Regions from separate parts of the Homo sapiens genome. Here regions 2, 3, 4 and 5 are each linked to region 1. The links are contacts of gene promoters, found by promoter capture Hi-C in blood cells and fetal thymus (Javierre and others, 2016). All regions are on one chromosome and are shown on one strand. The core of a region is centred on a gene start or on the middle of the fragment in contact, and the rest is flanking DNA. Distances in the headings are between cores, read along the strand shown. Region 1 holds the start of SMAD1-AS2 (SMAD1 antisense RNA 2). Region 2 overlaps OTUD4 (OTU deubiquitinase 4). Region 3 overlaps LOC124900794 (a long non-coding RNA gene). Region 4 has its middle 27 kb from the start of OTUD4. Region 5 has its middle 48 kb from the start of OTUD4.

Region 1 (3,243 bases), core at 471-2,970:
TGAATTAGGAGGGAAGTGATTTTTTCAAGTGATAAAAAGAAATAAAATTCCATGCTCTTCCCAGAGGAGGAGTTCAACAATTGGGAAAGTGGCGTGAGACCATATGTTGGTTTGTAAAAGGATATAACTTGTAAAGATGTTTCCTTTGATGCCTGTGATGAATATGGATGTGTTTCCCTTCTAGAGGGTCCTGATTAAATTATGCAATTAAGAGCTGAGCTGAAGGATCTAAATATAGGAAGAGAGTTCAGGCCGTCCTGCTTTGTGTCTGTCAGTTCACCCCTACAGATGTGCATGTTTGTTGTCATAAACAGCACCTGTGAGATCAGTGGAGCGAGAGAAATATGTTCCAAAACATGAAATACAGCAGGATTTTTGTTTCTTTTTTTTTTTTTAAAGGGATAGTTTTTTCCTCCTGTAGTTGATTCCATTTTCATCTGTGAATTTGATATTTGGATTACCTTTTTTTTTTTTAAACTTGACTGAGGGACTTCAGTATTAGTCAGTACTGGTTTAAAATATAGATATACTACTTACCAGAATATGGTCTGGAGAAAGTTACTTTAACCTCTGAGCCTCAAGTTTATTACTAAAATTGAGATAATGATTTCTACCTTGAAGCATTGGTGTGAGGAGTCAATGTAATAATGTTTGTAAAAACAACCAGTATAATGCTTGTATAAGTTGGTAACTCAAACAATTTCGTTTATTAGCTACTGACGAATCATTCATAACTAGCCACTTACGGAAATCTACCACATTTAGCATTCTTTGTAGTCTAAAATTGCTATTTTAGGATAACTGACTCAAAGAGAATAGTTTTTTCTGAGACAACTACCATAGACTTTCTCCTGGGATAGTCAATAAAATTAAATCTTAAAATGTCTGTGGTCTTCAATCTTTCCTGTGTTTGAGGAGTGAGCATTTGTAGGCCAGGAGTCTTTACAGTGTTTGAGTTGACATGAATGTGAATGGCCTTTATCAGGATGAGCTTATGGGGAGCTGGACATCTTGAAAGGCTACCGTGTCCTGAAGGACAGTATGCCATTACAAGCATGAATTTGGGAATGGGGGTTCAATGGGATTAAGGAATGTTGTACAACTTTTAGAGGAAATGGCAAGAAGATATAGAAAAGCCAACTTTGTTTGTTGAAGTTGGGGACAATAAGAAAACTTTCAATTGCCTTAACTATTCAAGTAATCATCTAATCAGACAAAACAGATGTGACAGCTGCTATTTTATAGGGAATCTCTGTGATTAAGAAAAATTAACCAGGTACTCTATTAGCAGCCTAGATTTGTCAGGATGGAAGGATTTGTGTATGCAGAACAGAACCAGAAAGAACTCTTTTTAAAGAATTTTCTGATATAATGAAGATACGTTAATAGCACACTTGGCACACCTAAAATAAATAAACTACAGTTATATCCTTAGAGACTCTTGTCATTCTGACATCCATAAGTTCCTTGCTTCCTTTTCATCAAGGAGATGCTACTTTTGAAATTGTTTGGCTGAAATTTCACAGCTTCAGTGAACTTACAAGTGGTAAGTAGTAAGCTGGAATTCAGTCTACATGGTATTCCTTTTCTTTTTGATTCCTAAGATTTCTACTCACTTAACACTGTTGAGGGACCAAATTGCATCTCTTGCTGGCATGTCACTTAAGTTATACTGGAGAGACTGGAAGACTTGCTGTCAGTGTCTGCGCTTTAAACGCACAGTGTCTGCGCTTTAAAGGCAATAGTACCTGCATTATTGCATCACTATAAATAGAATTTCACGAACTGAACCTCTCTCCTATCTCCAACCCCCAATTTCTCCAGATTTAGAAAATCAGTCTCCGGCAAAAATAAATTTTCAGTGGGAAAAATGTCAAACTAGCTATTCTGCATCATCAGTCCCATGTTTGGAAGTAGCCAGATCAAGGCTGAATAGTAAGAGGCTCAGTAAGATGGAACTTTACTTGTGGTGTTTGTGATGGTAGGACTCTCCTGCTGCTGTGAACTGAGAGCAGCAGAGTTCTGTGTTCTCTGTGGGTCTCCGTATGGCTTTCTTGTGTAGGAATTTGGTTTAAATACATTTTTCCCCTAAGGACTAAAGCGAAATAGAGTTCATTATAGCCTTTTTAGCAATGAAGTTAAGCGCTGTACTTTATGAAGTACGTTAGCATCAGTAAAGAGCAAGGTTTTATCCATTTTCATTTTTCTTTCTGTTCTAGAGGTTTTTTCCTCCCTTATTTTGCTTAGTGGTGAGTTTTATTTAGCTAAATTTGACTCATTTGAGATTGAGACAAATGTTGAAAGTTGAGGGCTAACTGCTGTTTTAAAACAGGAAAAAGGAATGCAGGCACTTCACCTGTTTCCTCCTCCAATACAAATACAGCAGGTCCTCAGACAACCTCATTTCATTCAATGCCATTTCCTTATAACGTTGATGAGAAAAAACATTCCCAGCCTAGGCCACTGTCTGTGTGGAGTTTGCACATTCTCCCCATGTCTGCTTGGGTTTTCTCTGGCTACTCTAGTTTCCTCCCATATCCCAAAGGTGTGCACGTTAGGTGAATTAGTATGTCTACATTGTCCCCATTGCAGTGCATGTAGGTGTGTGTGTGAGTGCGCCCTGCCATGAAATGGTGTCCTGTCCAGGGGTGGTTCCCACCTTGTGCCCTAAGCTGCTGGGATCGGCTCGGGCCACTGCGACCCTGAATTGGAATAATTGGGTAAATAATTATCTTGTTTCTGTTCATCTTTCTTAAATGTATATATGGCTCACATTTATTTCAGTGTTAATTTTAGAAGTGTTTTGGGTCTCAGAAGTTTGGTAATGTTTTTGTGACCAGAAATGTCCTGAAGGAACTTAACTCTTGTTTATATAAATTAGCTGATGCTAAAATTAATTTTGTTTTACATCGTTTCACTTAGAGCCACAGTTTCCAAGAACCCGTAAGGACTTTACTGTATCTGAAAACCTGGTTAGCTCCTAACTGGAGTAACTGGGTTAAAGAAGCATTTGAACATTATTTGTTGAACCAGATCAAAGAACATTGCTACTTTAGGGTATTTTCTGGAACTGAAATAACTAGATCCATTTCTGTTTTTATATTCATTGTAATGGCATTGGACTTGTATAGCAAATTTTAACTTGTCTTTTGCCTGTCTGCCTTAACCTTAAGGGTAGATATTTATCATTTTCCTTAAGGAGCTGTACAATAATCTTTCATGCTTTTTGTTAGGAACCATTTA
Region 2 (3,243 bases), core at 486-2,985, 340 kb before region 1:
AGAAAGTTACCTAGGGTACAGCTAAAATTTCTGTAAGTGCAGTTAAGTAGTTTAAAATAATCGCAAAAGACAGTGCCATTTTTAAAACTAACACCATCACAAAAAGGTATCACAACTGTGAAACAAGTAGGACAACAGGAAAAGCCAAAACACACACACTGAGCAATTATTACTACTACATTCCACACACTGTGCAGCTTTATATATCCTTACGTTTAATTCCAGCACAGTGAAGCATTATTCTGATTCTACAGATAAGGAAACTGAGACTTAGGGATGTCATACAACATGCCCAATCTTAAGAGACTTAGATTAAAAACATTAAGAAGCTTTAAGATTGCTAGAAAGAGGAATATAGTATAGTACATACTAGCTGACAAGTCAGAAGACTTGGATGCTAGTCTAAGCTTTCCCACTAATTGTAACCTTGGACGAGCACTTCTCAGGTTGCTATAGAAAAAGAGGATGTTTGACTACATAACCTAGCTCCAGATTTTAATTTTACATAAGGAACTAAAAAAGCAGCTGTTACAAAATATATTCTCAGCAGCCACTGAAAGAAAGAAGCATATTTAGACAACTTTGCTGCTTTAAATAAAGTAAAATTTTAAAACTCCAGTCTTGAATATAGGGAAATATATTTTAACAAAAATTCAAAAATACATGGATTTTAGGACTCTGATTTGGTTTTATAACAATGAGCTTTAAGAAAACAATGTACTAAGAATTCATCAACAATGGGGCCAGGTGTGGAGGCTCACACCTGTAATCCCAACACTTTGGGAGACCAAGGCGGGCAGATCACTGGAGGTCAGGAGTTCAAGACCAGCCTGGCCAACATGGTGAAACCCTGTCTCTACTAAAAATACACAAATTACCCAGGTGTGGTGGTGCACACCTGTAATTCCAGCTACGCAGGAGGCCGAGGCAGCAGAATCGCTTGAACCCAGAAGCCAGTGGTTGCAGTGAACTGAGATCATGCCACTGCACTCCAGCCTGGGTGACAGAGCGAGACCCTGTCTTAAAAAACAGCAAAGGCCGGACAGGATAGCGCTCATGCCTGTAATTCCAGCACTTTGGGAGGCTGAGGTAGGCGGATCAGTTGAGGTCAGGGGTTTAAGACCAGCCTGGTCAAGATGGTGAAACCCCATCTCTACTAAAAATACAAAAATTAGCCAGACTTGGTGGCGGGCATCTGTAATCCAAGCTACTCGGGAGGCTGAGGCAGGAGAATAGCTTAAACCCAGGAGGCGGAAGTTGCAGTGAGCCAAGATTGTGCCACTGCACTCCAGCCTAGGCGAGAGAGCAACACTCCACCTCAAAACAACAACAACAACAACAACAACAACAACAAACACTGGGTGTCCACCTCTAAATGAGTTCCCACAGAGACTTCCTTCTTATAGACCATCTTTCTTCCAGGTTCCAGTAACAGGAGTTGCAGCCCTCGTATCACCCAAACCACAGGCACTTAGAATCACAGGAAAGACAAGCTCTAGGAGCTATCTTTCCCAAAGCTGAGGTGTCCAGATTGTGACTAGCTAGGAGGGAGAAGACACAGCCCAGGGTACAGAGGCTACACTTCGATATCTTACAATGGATTAATTATTTAAAATAGTGTATTGCACATATCTTTACTGGTTACCACTAGCTTAAGAGCAGAGGAAAAAGCTGTCACAAGCCCAGCACCACTGCTTTATGACTGATCTGTACTTTGCCAGAACGGATGATATAAAAGAAACTGGTAGGAAGGGTCACTGCTCTTCTACAGCAGGAATTCTCACACAGAAGAAGGGCAAAGGGAATTCATATGCCCAGGAAACATTTGGCAAAATCTGGAAATATTATTGGTTGTCACAAAGGGAGAGAGAGTGTGTTACTGCCATCCACTAGGTAGAAGCCAAGGATGCTACTTAACATTCTGAAGTTCACAAGAGAGCCTACAACAGAGGAGTATCTGGCCGAAAATATCAATAGTTCCAAGGTTCAAAATGCTGCCCCGGAGCCAAATACAATCAAATGTTTGATTTGCTCAGTCATTTGGATTTTCAAGCTATACACTAACAGTTTTTAAAATGCATATAAATCTTTATTACCAAAATGATTGCAGGAAAAAAAAGTTGGTATTTACAAGTCAAACTCTAGCCACAAGCTCCCTTTCCTCCAATTTCTCTCTGTTTTGTTTTGCTTTGCTTCACTTTGAAACAAGGTCTCACTCTGCTGCCCAAGCTGGAGTGTAGTGGCACAATAATAGCTCACTGCAGCCTTGACTTCCTGGGCTCAAGTGATCCTCCCACCTCAGCCTCCCAAGTAGTTGGGACCACAGGCATGCGCCACCATGCCCAGCTACCTTTCCTCCTACTGCAACAAGTTTTTATTATAATATTAATACTCTTGGTAATTTAAGGTTCTTGGACATATCTTTTATATTATAACAGAATAGAATTATTTGCTCTGATTTGTTTACATTAAGACTGTATAAGGCCGGGCACGGTAGCTCACGCCTGTAATCCCAGCACTTTGGGAGGTCGAGGCGGGCGGATCACGAGGTCAGGAGATCGAGACCACCCTGGCTAACACGGTGAAACCTAGTCTCTATTAAAAATACAAAAAAATTAGCCAGGCGTTGTGGCGGGCGCCCGTAGTCCCAGCTACTCGGGAGGCTGAGGCAGGAGTGGCATGAACCCCGGAGGCAGAGCTTGCAGTGAGCGGAGATCACGCCACTGCACTCCAGCCTGGGAGACAGAGCGAGACTCCGTCTCAAAAAAAAACAAAAAACAAAACAAAAAACAAAAAGACTGTATAAGTTTAGGAATATAATTTCCCATATAAACACAAGGTGATACTTACACTGACACATAGCAGAGCTTTCTTTATACTTTATGGGATACACAATATCATAATGATTTCCATTTGAAAAACACAGTAACACCTGAAAGGGAAAAATAAAAGAAACATTTCAGCCCCTCATACATATAACATTTACATAGCAATGTATGTCTCCAATGCCTCTGAATTACTAGATCATTTCCAAACAGACAGTGAGTATTTTAGGAGTAACCTAAAGCTTCAGTGTTGTCAAGCTACAGTACATCCATATGCTGAAATGTTATATAAACATTAAATCAAAAAATTCAAAATGATTTCTGGAAATGTTTATAGGATCACAAAAAAATAAAAATAATATATGAAAACATGCTTTCAACTACTTAAAGAACAAGACACTGTAAGAAAATATTTCAA
Region 3 (3,243 bases), core at 333-2,832, 320 kb before region 1:
ACTCCAGCCTGGGCAACAGAGTGAGACTCCATCTCAGAAAAAAAAAAAAAAAAATGGTTGAAACTAGTTAGCCAGCTTTGCCGGGCACAGTGGCTCACGCCTGTAATCCCAGCACTTTGGGAGGCCGAGGCAGGCGGATCACGAGGTCTGGAGTTTGAGACCAGCCTGACCAACATGGTGAAATCCTGGCTCTACTAAAAATTCAAAAATTAGCTGGTTGTGGTGGCACACGCCTGTAATCCCGGCTACTCGGGAGGCTGAGGCAGAAGAATCGCTGGAAACCGAGAGGCGGAGGTTGCAGCGAGCCAAGATCCGGCCATTGCACTTCAGCCTGGGTGGGCAACAGAGGGAGATTCCGTCTCAAAAAAAAAAAACAAAAAACGAAACTAGTTACCCAGCTTTGATCATGCAAAGACAACACCGTAAGATAACAGAGCAATGAGATGGAGGACTGAGCTCCTGAATACTTCATAGCCTGTGATCCTTGAACCAGTCCTCTCCAGACTGTGAGAAATAAACTTATTTTACCAACCGTTGCTGCTGTTGTTATTATAGCTACTTAGTCTATGTATTCTAGCACATTTCCCCCTCAAATATTAAATAAGTGATAACATTTGGGACAAATTAAATTTATTTATAAGAGTTTCTGAGTTGAGCAGAACATAATTCTTTTTTTTTTTCTTTTGAGACAGAGTCTGTCACCCAGGCTGGAGTGCAGTGGCACCATCACGGCTCACCTCCCCAGGCTCAGGTGATCTTCCTACCTTAGCCTCCAAAGTAGCTGGGACTACAGGTGTGCACCCCCACTCCCAGCTAATATTTTGTGTGTTTTTAGTAGAGATGGGTTTTCGCCATGTTGCCCCAGCTGGTCTCAAACTCCTGAGTACAAGCAATCCTCCTGCCCCAGCCTCCAAAAGTGCTGAGATTACAGGCGTGAGCCACCACACCTGGCCCATAATTCTTTTTTCTGAGAAGTTAGGGAATTGCCAAAGTCTTAATTGCAAGATTCCAAATGTTAAAGGGCTTCAAAATATGAAGTTTTAACATCGAAATAATGGTGTTATTTCAACTAATGACTTTCTCCCTCACCAACCCACATTCCCCTTCAGCTGCTACATTTGATGGTGTTGACCACCTTTTCATTTTGTTACTCTCCTTCACCTTTTGTAAGGTGAGATATCTTGTGTAGTCAAGCTATTTAAATATCTTGTCTTGATTATATCTCCTTTGCTGATTCCTTTTCTCCCCCACTCCCCATCTCCTAAATGTGGGGGTGCCCCAGGTCTCAAGTTTTAACTTTATTTAGCCCTGTTCTCTTTTTCAAGCTTTAATGTCTTATCTCTAGTCCATGCAGGACATTTCCATCTAAAACACATTTCTAAAAGTAAACTCATTTTTCCCTTAAAACCATCCCCCTCAAGCACTCTAACATCAAGCATTGGGTTTAAATAGTAGATACTCAAAAAACACAACATTTGCTGAATGATTTAATGATGTATCATTTATTATGGTAGATAGCTCTTGTTTTTGCTTAATCGTTATCCATTCTCTGTGGAATAGATGAGAAACAATAAGGAGTTATAGTCAAGGTGATAAAAACCAACTTTTTGCAAATGAAATAATTTAGTTAAATGCTCAGGAAAATCAGGAAAAAACTGGTGTGATGGGACTACATTTCCAATTTATATTTTGGAGGAATGATCATTCAGAAAAATAATCTTATCTGTAAATTTACAACAGAATGAAATGATAGGAGAGAATGTATGCTATAGCTTTTGTGTTTCATTTGCAAGCTATCACAAGGAGGAACTGGCTGGTAGTAGTAAAAGATTTTACCTAGTAAGCTTATGATTCTATACGCATTGCCCACCTTCTCTGGTAACTTGGAATATCAACCTTAGCAAAGTCCTTCACAAGCCTTCCAAGTCTTCAATACTATACATTCCTGCATAGCAGAAAATAACATTGCATGAGTTAGTTTACCTTTTCCTTGCTAGAGCAAAAGGATCAAAAGAATTACAGAGGGGAGACTTCATCTCCCAAAATGGGAAGCAAATACTTCTTACTGCAGGAGAGTGTTTGAAGATCAAGGCTTGAAAGAAAAGAAGACCACTTTTCTTAGTTTTTAAAGTAATTTTTAAAATTTCACTCTGGCTTAATGGTCATCAAGATCAATTCAAAAAATTACAAAAGAAAAAAAAAAAGGAAAGAAGGAAGGAAGTACAAGGAAGGGTAAAGGGGCCAGGACCCTGGTGCCATCTATTAGCCAAGTGAGCTAACCTAGAGAAGGACCTTGCAAGGGGCTTGGCTGCAAATGCTCAGATATCTGTCTTTTCTAGCTCACCATCCAGCCTCCGCATGAGGGAGCATCTCTTGTTGGCCATGCTACTTAACTGTACCAGCACTTCGTAGCTTGACTGCTCTGTAGTACCAAAGTTGGTATATGCCATGAGATCCTTACTCAATCCTAGTAGAGAAAAAAGAGCCCCCATCTGCACTTTAGACAGATGAACTGAATAAGTTTCAAACCCCAGAGCTAGGACTGCAGTCCTGAGACCCTATAACCTGTATGACTAGAGAAGTGAAACTATGATTTAGTTTCTTATTAGAGCTTCGACTTCCGTATATTCCTATGCCTAAGCTGGATGAACTAATAAACCTCACAGTAGACTGAGGCTCTTACACAAGTAGCTATAGCTAGTCATAGTCCATTATCTCTGCAAATAAAACCTCCACGTACTTCCAACCATTTACCTCTCCTTCCACCACTACCTCTTGATTCCACCCTGACAGAAGCAAACTTGCAAAGTCCCATTGCAAGGTATTTACTTTAGCTCCCCAAATAGGATTGTAAACTCTTTGTAGGCTTGTAGAATTTAAGATTCTTTTTTTCTTTTTCAAGTGTCTAATAGTATATTTGCTTTTGCATATTCAGATTAAAAATTCAATGAATATTCATTAAATGATTTCATGTATTCCCAATGAAATGCTCAAAGAAGAAAGTATTTCAAATGAAAATACATAAATAACCACAGGTTATGGAACCTCAACCTGTAGGTTGAGGTCTAAATATTTGATATAGAACAGTGGACCAAGATTATATGTTAAGTAATACTTAATACCATCTTCCTAACCAAACAAATTGAAGATAATCTAAATAGAGAATTGGTCAAACACATTCTAATATGTCAATACAATTAGAATACAGTACTATTCAGCCTTTAAATACAATGTGTCTGTTTC
Region 4 (3,243 bases), core at 270-2,769, 300 kb before region 1:
CAAGTAATTTACCTTCTTGTTTCCTCCTGTACTTCAATTTTCCACCAGTGTTTTCCATTGGCTGAACCTGTCTGGAAGCCAGAGGAAGAAGGAACCTGGAAAATGTACTTTCCTGTGAGATAGCGTGGGGGGAGCACAGAAAAGGCAGAAAATTTATTTGAGAGTCTAACCATTTTGCCATTCAGGATCTATTCTTATTCTTTGTATTAGTCTGTTGTCATGCTGCTAATAAAGATTTACCTGAGACTGGGTAATTTATAAAGGAAAGAAATTTAATGGGCTCACACATTCACATGGCTGGGGAGGCCTCACAATCATGGCAGAGGCAAAGGGGAAGCAGAGGTACATCTTACATGGTGGCAGGCAAGAGAGCTTGTGCAGGGGATCTCCCCTTTATAAAACCATCATATCTCATGAGACTTATTCACTATCATGAAAACAGTGGAGGAAAACCCGCCCCTATGATTCAATTACCTCTCACCAGGTTCCTCCCAGGACATATGGGGATTATTACAATTCAAGGTGAGATTTGGGTGGGGACACAGAGCCAAACCATAACACCCTTATACCAATACAACAGCAACTCCATGATTCTGCCTAACATGAGTCTACTATCCATCATGCAAACAAAGATACTGTTGTCTTTTTTTCCAGAAAATGGACACACAAGGTCCTAGAAAAGTCAGCCATTGTACCTATCTCAAGATTTTCCAGGTGATAACACAATCCTGTAATCCTCCCTGTTGTGGTTCCTTGTGGTCCTGGTTACCTGTGAACTAAATTGTAAAATTAGTCACTACCAATTCTCATTCAACATAAGAGGGAAGATAATGGTAAGAAAATCTGAAAGAAAAAAAAACTGGCACATATGAAATATTGTGTGCGTGTATGTGCATAGCTGCTATGATCCATATTTCTGTAACTGATTACAGGGTCAAGAGTGATATTTATTACTTCCTTCTTCCACCACCCATTTCATGATTGCTTTGTCCTAATATAGCACCTGGATTTGTTGGGATTCTGTACCTGATTGGGTGACTAAGACCTTTATATTGAAGGATCTTAGTCCATAGAAGTTCAGATTTTATTGGGTGGCTTTACACTGGACATAGAAGTAATGAGATATCCTAGAGAATCCCTGGGGTTCTAGACATGATCCTCCCTACCTGCACCATGCACCAGCCACCCAGTTTTCTTGTGTTAATCAGATCAATTTTTCCAGTCTCTACAGCAACTTCCTTCTCTACTTGTTGGTGAGTCTCAGCTTCCAATTTGATGGGACTTGTGTTGGATTCTCTGGTGACAATATTCCTCTTTGGGAACTAAGTCCTGTAAACTAGCAAAGCCCAAGGGTGAGAATGAGAGGCAAAACCTCTGAGAAAGGGCTAGGCTTAACAGGGAGAGAGGCCACTCCCATTTCTATCACTTGGACTATCCCATGTATTATGGCTATGAGAGAAATAACACATCATAAGTAGAGAGCTGGATCAGAGTTATACTGCACCCCTACATCATAGAATGTTGTCTTCTGGCAGATGACATAACTGGCTTCTTAGTAAGCTATTCTTCCATTCTATTAGGCCAGCTGCTTCTGGCTGATAATTTAGGTAGTAAGACCAGTGAACTCCATGAGCAATGAACAATTGTACTTTTTTTTTTTTTTTTTTGTAAAATGGTTTCCAGAAGTCATATTGTAAGGAATACCATGCTACTGAATAAGGCCTCCTGTGAACCCATAGATGGTATTGGGAGATTTATTGCAGGCATTGAGGACCAATGCATATCCTCAGTAAGTGCTTAATTTGCTCCTTCTGTGATGGAAGGAGCTCACTATTGTCTACCTACCACAAAACAGCTGGCTGGTCTCCTCTGGGAAATGTGCCCTATCAGTGACTCAGTGTTGGCCTCTGCTGTTGGCTGGTTGGGCACCCAGCAGTGGCTATAGTCAGATCAGCCTTGTTAAGGGAAGTCTCTGTTATTGAAGTCCCTGTTATGATTGACTCTATCCCTACTGCTATGGTCACTTTGTATGCAATCAAGTACCACGATGGGTGAGAAAAGAGGCTGTACCGAATATCTTCTTTTTGCTCCCCTCTCCACTGTACTCTGAGTTATGAGTAGTTGCATGTGAGATTCTGCAGTTGCTAGGTATGTCTACCTCAACTATCCAGAGATATATCCAGAGACAGAGGATATAACCACAGGATGGGGCTGCGAGCCCACTGGGCCCACTGTGACATAGTCTCAGCCCCAAACTCCATTAACCCCCTGACCTCTATAAGCCCCCATTCTGAATGAATGATGGATCACAGTGATTTTTCCCAGGGATTAGCATCAACTCAAATTTGATTAGCATCAACTCAAATCTATGAATTCCCCCAAATTTGGATACTTGTCTTTTCCCAGTGCACAGTCATCCTGGTAAAGGACTGCAGATCTCACGGGGTAGGTTTGAAGGACGATTTCTAGTACAAGCAGGCAGTGTTTTCAGATCCTTCCTGATAAAACCCATACTCCTGGCTGGGCACGGTGACTCACACCTGTAATCCCAGCACTTCAGGAGGCCAAGGCAGGTGGATCACCTGAGGTCCGGAGTTCGAGACTAGCCAGGCCAACATAGTGAAACCCCATCTGTACTAAAAATACAAAAATTAGCCGGGCATGTTGGCCGGTGCCTGTAATCCTAGCTACTTGGGAGGCTGAGACAGGAGAATTGCTTGAACCCAGGAGGCAGAGGTTGCAGAGAGCCAAGATCGTGCCATTGCACTCCAGCCTGAGTGACAAGAGCAAAATTCCGTTTCAACAAAGAAAAGAAAAAAAGAAAAAAAACCCCACTCTCCCTTTCAAAGGGTCCCAAGCTGTCGAATTGGCTTAGATCTGGGAAATGTGAGAGGCTATGAATTCCTTTTGCAGTGATCAGGTAAGGTTTCAGCTCCTCACTTCTAGAATATTTCTGATGGTATAGATCAAATGTGTTAGTATGCTGCCATCTATTTCATTCCTAAGAACACTTTGTTCAGTTAGCCACCACCACAGATCCCTTGGTGTCAAAATACTCTCATTGTCACTGTGTACCTGTTGCTGCTCATTCTGGTAATTGCATCCAGTTTGTTTCTGATAGTTAAGAGCTTTCACCTGGCCTAGGTCATGCCAGGATCCAATTATTCCCACTCAAGTTGTGGAGCTCATCCCAATGGCAGCATCTTCCAGCATCCTACCCAGTCAACAAAGAACAGCCACCAC
Region 5 (3,243 bases), core at 493-2,992, 270 kb before region 1:
AAATCTCTCAGCATTTGCTTGTCTGTAAAGTATTTTATTTCTCCTTCACTTATGAAGCTTAGTTTGGCTGGATATGAAATTCTGGGTTGAAAATTCTTTTCTGAATGTTGCATATTGGCCTCCACTCTCTTCTGGCTTGTAGGTTTTCCTTGGAGAGATCCGCTGTTAGTCTGATGGGCTTCCCTTTGTGGGTAACCCGGCCTTTCTCTCTGGCTGCCCTTAACATTTTTTCCTTCATTTCAACTTTGGTGAATCTGACAATTATGTGTCTTGGGGTTGTTCTTCTCAAGGAGTATCTTTGTGATGTTCCTCTGTATTTCCTGAATTTGAATGTTGGCCTGCCTTGCTAGGTTGGGGAAGTTCTCCTGGATAATATCCTGAAGAGTGTTTTCCAACTTGGTTCCATTCTCCCCAGCACTTTCAGGTACACCAATCAAATGTAGATTTGGTCTTTTCATATAGTCCCATATTTCTTGGAGGCTTTGTTCATTTCTTTTTACTCTTTTTTCTCTAACCTTGTCTTCTCACTTTATTTCATTCATTTGATCTTCAATCACTGATACCCTTTCTTCCATTTGATCAAATCGGCTATTGAAGCTTGTGCATGCATCACAAATTTCTCGTGTCATGGTTTTCAGCTCCATCAGGTCATTTAAGGTCTTCTCTACACGGTTTATTTTAGTTAGCCATTCGTCTAACCTTTTTTCAAGGTTTTTAGCTTCCTTGTAATGGGTTAGAACATGCTCCTTTAGCTTGGAGAAGTTTGTAATTACTGACCTTCTGAAGCCTACTTCTGTCCACTCGTCAAAGTCATTCTCCATCCAGCTTTGTTCCATTACTGGCGAGGAGCTGTGATCCTTTGGAGGAGAAGAGGCTCTGGTTTTTAGAATTTTCAGCTTTTCTGCTCTGGTTTCTCCCCATCTTTGTGGTTTTATCTACCTTTGGTCTTTGATGTTGGTGACCTACAGATGGGGTTTTGGTGTGGATGTCCTTTTTGTTGATGTTGATGCTATTCCTTTCTGTTTGTTAGTTTTCCTTCTACAAGTCAGGTCCCTCAGCTGCAGGTCTGCTGGAGTTTGCTGGAGGTCCACTCCAGACTCTGTTTGCCTGGGTGTCACCAGCAGAGGCTGCAGAACGGCAAATATTGCAGAACAGCAAATATTGCTGCCTGATCTTTCCTCTGGAAGCTTCGTCCCAGAAGGTCACCTGTCTGTATGAGGTGCCCATTGGCTCCTACTGTAAAGTGTCTCCCAGTTAGGCTACATGGGGTTCAGGGACCCACTTGGGGACAGTCTGTCTGTTCTCAGACCTCAAAGGCCATGCTGGGAGAACCACTGCTCTCTTCAGAGCACAGTTGGAAATGTAGAAATCACCTGTCTTCTGCATCAATCGTGTTGGGAGCTGCAGACCGGAGGTGTTCCTATTCGACCATCTTGGAATGGAACCCCCATTTAGATGCATTTTGACATATGCCTATGTTATGGTTTTAATGTGTCCCCCAAAATTTCATGTGTTGGAAACTTAATTGCCTTTGTAACAGTATTCAGAAGTGGGGCCTCTAAGAGGTGAAAGATTAATGCCATTATCTTGGGAGTGGTCTCCTGATAAACAGATGAGTTTGGCTTGATTTTCTCTCTGCCTTGTATGCTTCCTTGTCATTCTGCCTTCCACTGTGGGGTGACCCTTGGCAGATGCTAGAGCACCATGCTTTTGGACTTCCCAGTCTGCAGAACCATGAGTCAAATAAATCTAAGGGCTAAGGGGGCAATATGAGGGATTGGCAATTGGAAGCTGGCAAAGGCTGAATGTGCCAGACAAAAGTAGGGTCTTAGTGGGGGCACACAACTATTGCCATACTGTAGACCTGCAGGAAGCTAGCCAGGCCTCTGCTCCTGCCTGTTGACTTCTGGAACCAACTGGAAGCCAGAAGACAGGGGATCCATGATGCATTCTGCACAGCTCAGTCACCAGAGGTTCAAAGAAGAGCCAGAAAGAATAGATAGTGGGTCTGGAGAAGCATACAGAGAATATCCATGTACAGACTTCCAACAATACCCTGTTCTCCTTATACATTAATGCCTTAAACTACTCACTTCTGATCTAGAAAGTCATAATACATGGTTTCAATCTAGAGACTAGTGGTTCTCAAAATTTTCTTTCTATACTTTCCTAATGTCAGATTATTCTAGGAAGTAAACACTCATCCAGGAGCCACATTTCCCATCCCCTTGTATGTAGGTGACACATTGAGACTGAATTGACCAATGGGAGGTGAGTATAAAGGGTTTATCCCTCTTTCAAGCTTGGCTCATGAAAAACTGCATGTTTGATCATCCATGCTCTTTTCCTCTTTAAATTGGCTGGAATGAAGGCAAACTTTACTATTATGATGTTAGGAATCATATGTTGAAGATGAAAAGGTCAAAGATGGATGAAATCTGAGTCCCTGAATCACTATTTAGAGAGCTCATAGAAACAGAAATACTTGCACTGGAAGAAAAAATAAAATACATACAAGAAACTTATTCATTAGGGAGGCGCTATGGTTTGAAAGCTTATGTCCCCCTCAAAATTCATGTTGAAACTTAAATACCCAGTGCAATGGAATTAGGTATAGAGGGCCTGTAGAAGCTGATTAGGTCATGAGGGTGGAGCTCTCATTAGTGACCTTGGGGGTGGAGAGAACTAGTCAGGCCCTCTTGCCTGTCTTCCTCCCACCATGTGAGTATGCAACAACAGAGCACCACCTATGAAGCAGAGAGCTGACTTCACCAGACACAGAACCTCCTGGCACCTTGACCTTGGACTTCCCAGCATCCAGAACTGTGAGAAATAAATTCTATTTGTTATACATAAAAAAAAAAAAGAAGGCCTGGTGCAATGGCTTATGCCTGTAATTCCAGCACTTTGGGAGGCCAAAGCAGGCAGATCACTTGAGGCCAGGAGTTCAAGACCAGCCTGGGCAACATGGTGAAACCCCGTCTCTATTCAAAATGCCAAAAAATTAGCCAGGCATGGTGGTCCCAGCTACTTGGGAGGCTGAGACTGGAGAATCGCTTGAATCCGGGAGGTGGAGGTTGCAGTGAGCTGAGATGGCACCACTGCCCTCCATCCTGGGTGACAGACCAAGACTCTGTCTCAAAAAAACAAAAACAAACAAACAAACAAAAAACAAAGAGAGAGAGATTGGTGGTTCTTAATTCCTTTGGGGTCACAGATTTTAAGATGTGCATGTAAGTACTC

Evidence for each region. Contacts are between HindIII fragments. The CHiCAGO score rates a contact against its expected background, and 5 or more counts as called.
Region 2: a fragment that was not itself captured here is called in contact with the fragment with the promoter of SMAD1-AS2 in region 1 in 1 of 17 cell types (endothelial precursors); the score reaches 5.1 in endothelial precursors.
Region 3: a fragment that was not itself captured here is called in contact with the fragment with the promoter of SMAD1-AS2 in region 1 in 1 of 17 cell types (erythroblasts); the score reaches 6.2 in erythroblasts.
Region 4: a fragment that was not itself captured here is called in contact with the fragment with the promoter of SMAD1-AS2 in region 1 in 5 of 17 cell types (erythroblasts, endothelial precursors, fetal thymus and 2 more); the score reaches 7.3 in erythroblasts.
Region 5: a contact is called between a fragment that was not itself captured here and the fragment with the promoter of SMAD1-AS2 in region 1, in 4 of 17 cell types (endothelial precursors, activated CD4 T cells, M2 macrophages and 1 more). The highest score is 7.3, in endothelial precursors.

The regions. Positions count from the first base shown.
Region 1 is chr4:145,501,260-145,504,502 of GRCh38, forward strand. SMAD1-AS2 (SMAD1 antisense RNA 2) reads right to left here and starts at 1,721. Exons shown (of 2, transcript NR_108077.1): 1 at 1,617-1,721. All of the region lies in intron 1 of SMAD1 (SMAD family member 1), which reads left to right. The HindIII fragment of the contact is 25,873 bases long and covers 1-3,243 here.
Region 2 is chr4:145,159,790-145,163,032 of GRCh38, forward strand. OTUD4 (OTU deubiquitinase 4) reads right to left here. Exons shown (of 21, transcript NM_001366057.1): 6 at 2,851-2,932. Among named protein-coding and RNA genes, the nearest start is that of OTUD4, 19 kb to the right of the region's middle. The HindIII fragment of the contact is 2,660 bases long and covers 406-3,065 here.
Region 3 is chr4:145,184,311-145,187,553 of GRCh38, forward strand. LOC124900794 (a long non-coding RNA gene) reads left to right here. Exons shown (of 2, transcript XR_007058294.1): 2 at 1-532. Among named protein-coding and RNA genes, the nearest start is that of OTUD4, 5.3 kb to the left of the region's middle. The HindIII fragment of the contact is 519 bases long and covers 1,324-1,842 here.
Region 4 is chr4:145,206,243-145,209,485 of GRCh38, forward strand. No RefSeq gene overlaps it. Among named protein-coding and RNA genes, the nearest start is that of OTUD4, 27 kb to the left of the region's middle. The HindIII fragment of the contact is 3,706 bases long and covers 1-3,243 here.
Region 5 is chr4:145,227,281-145,230,523 of GRCh38, forward strand. No RefSeq gene overlaps it. Among named protein-coding and RNA genes, the nearest start is that of OTUD4, 48 kb to the left of the region's middle. The HindIII fragment of the contact is 1,115 bases long and covers 1,186-2,300 here.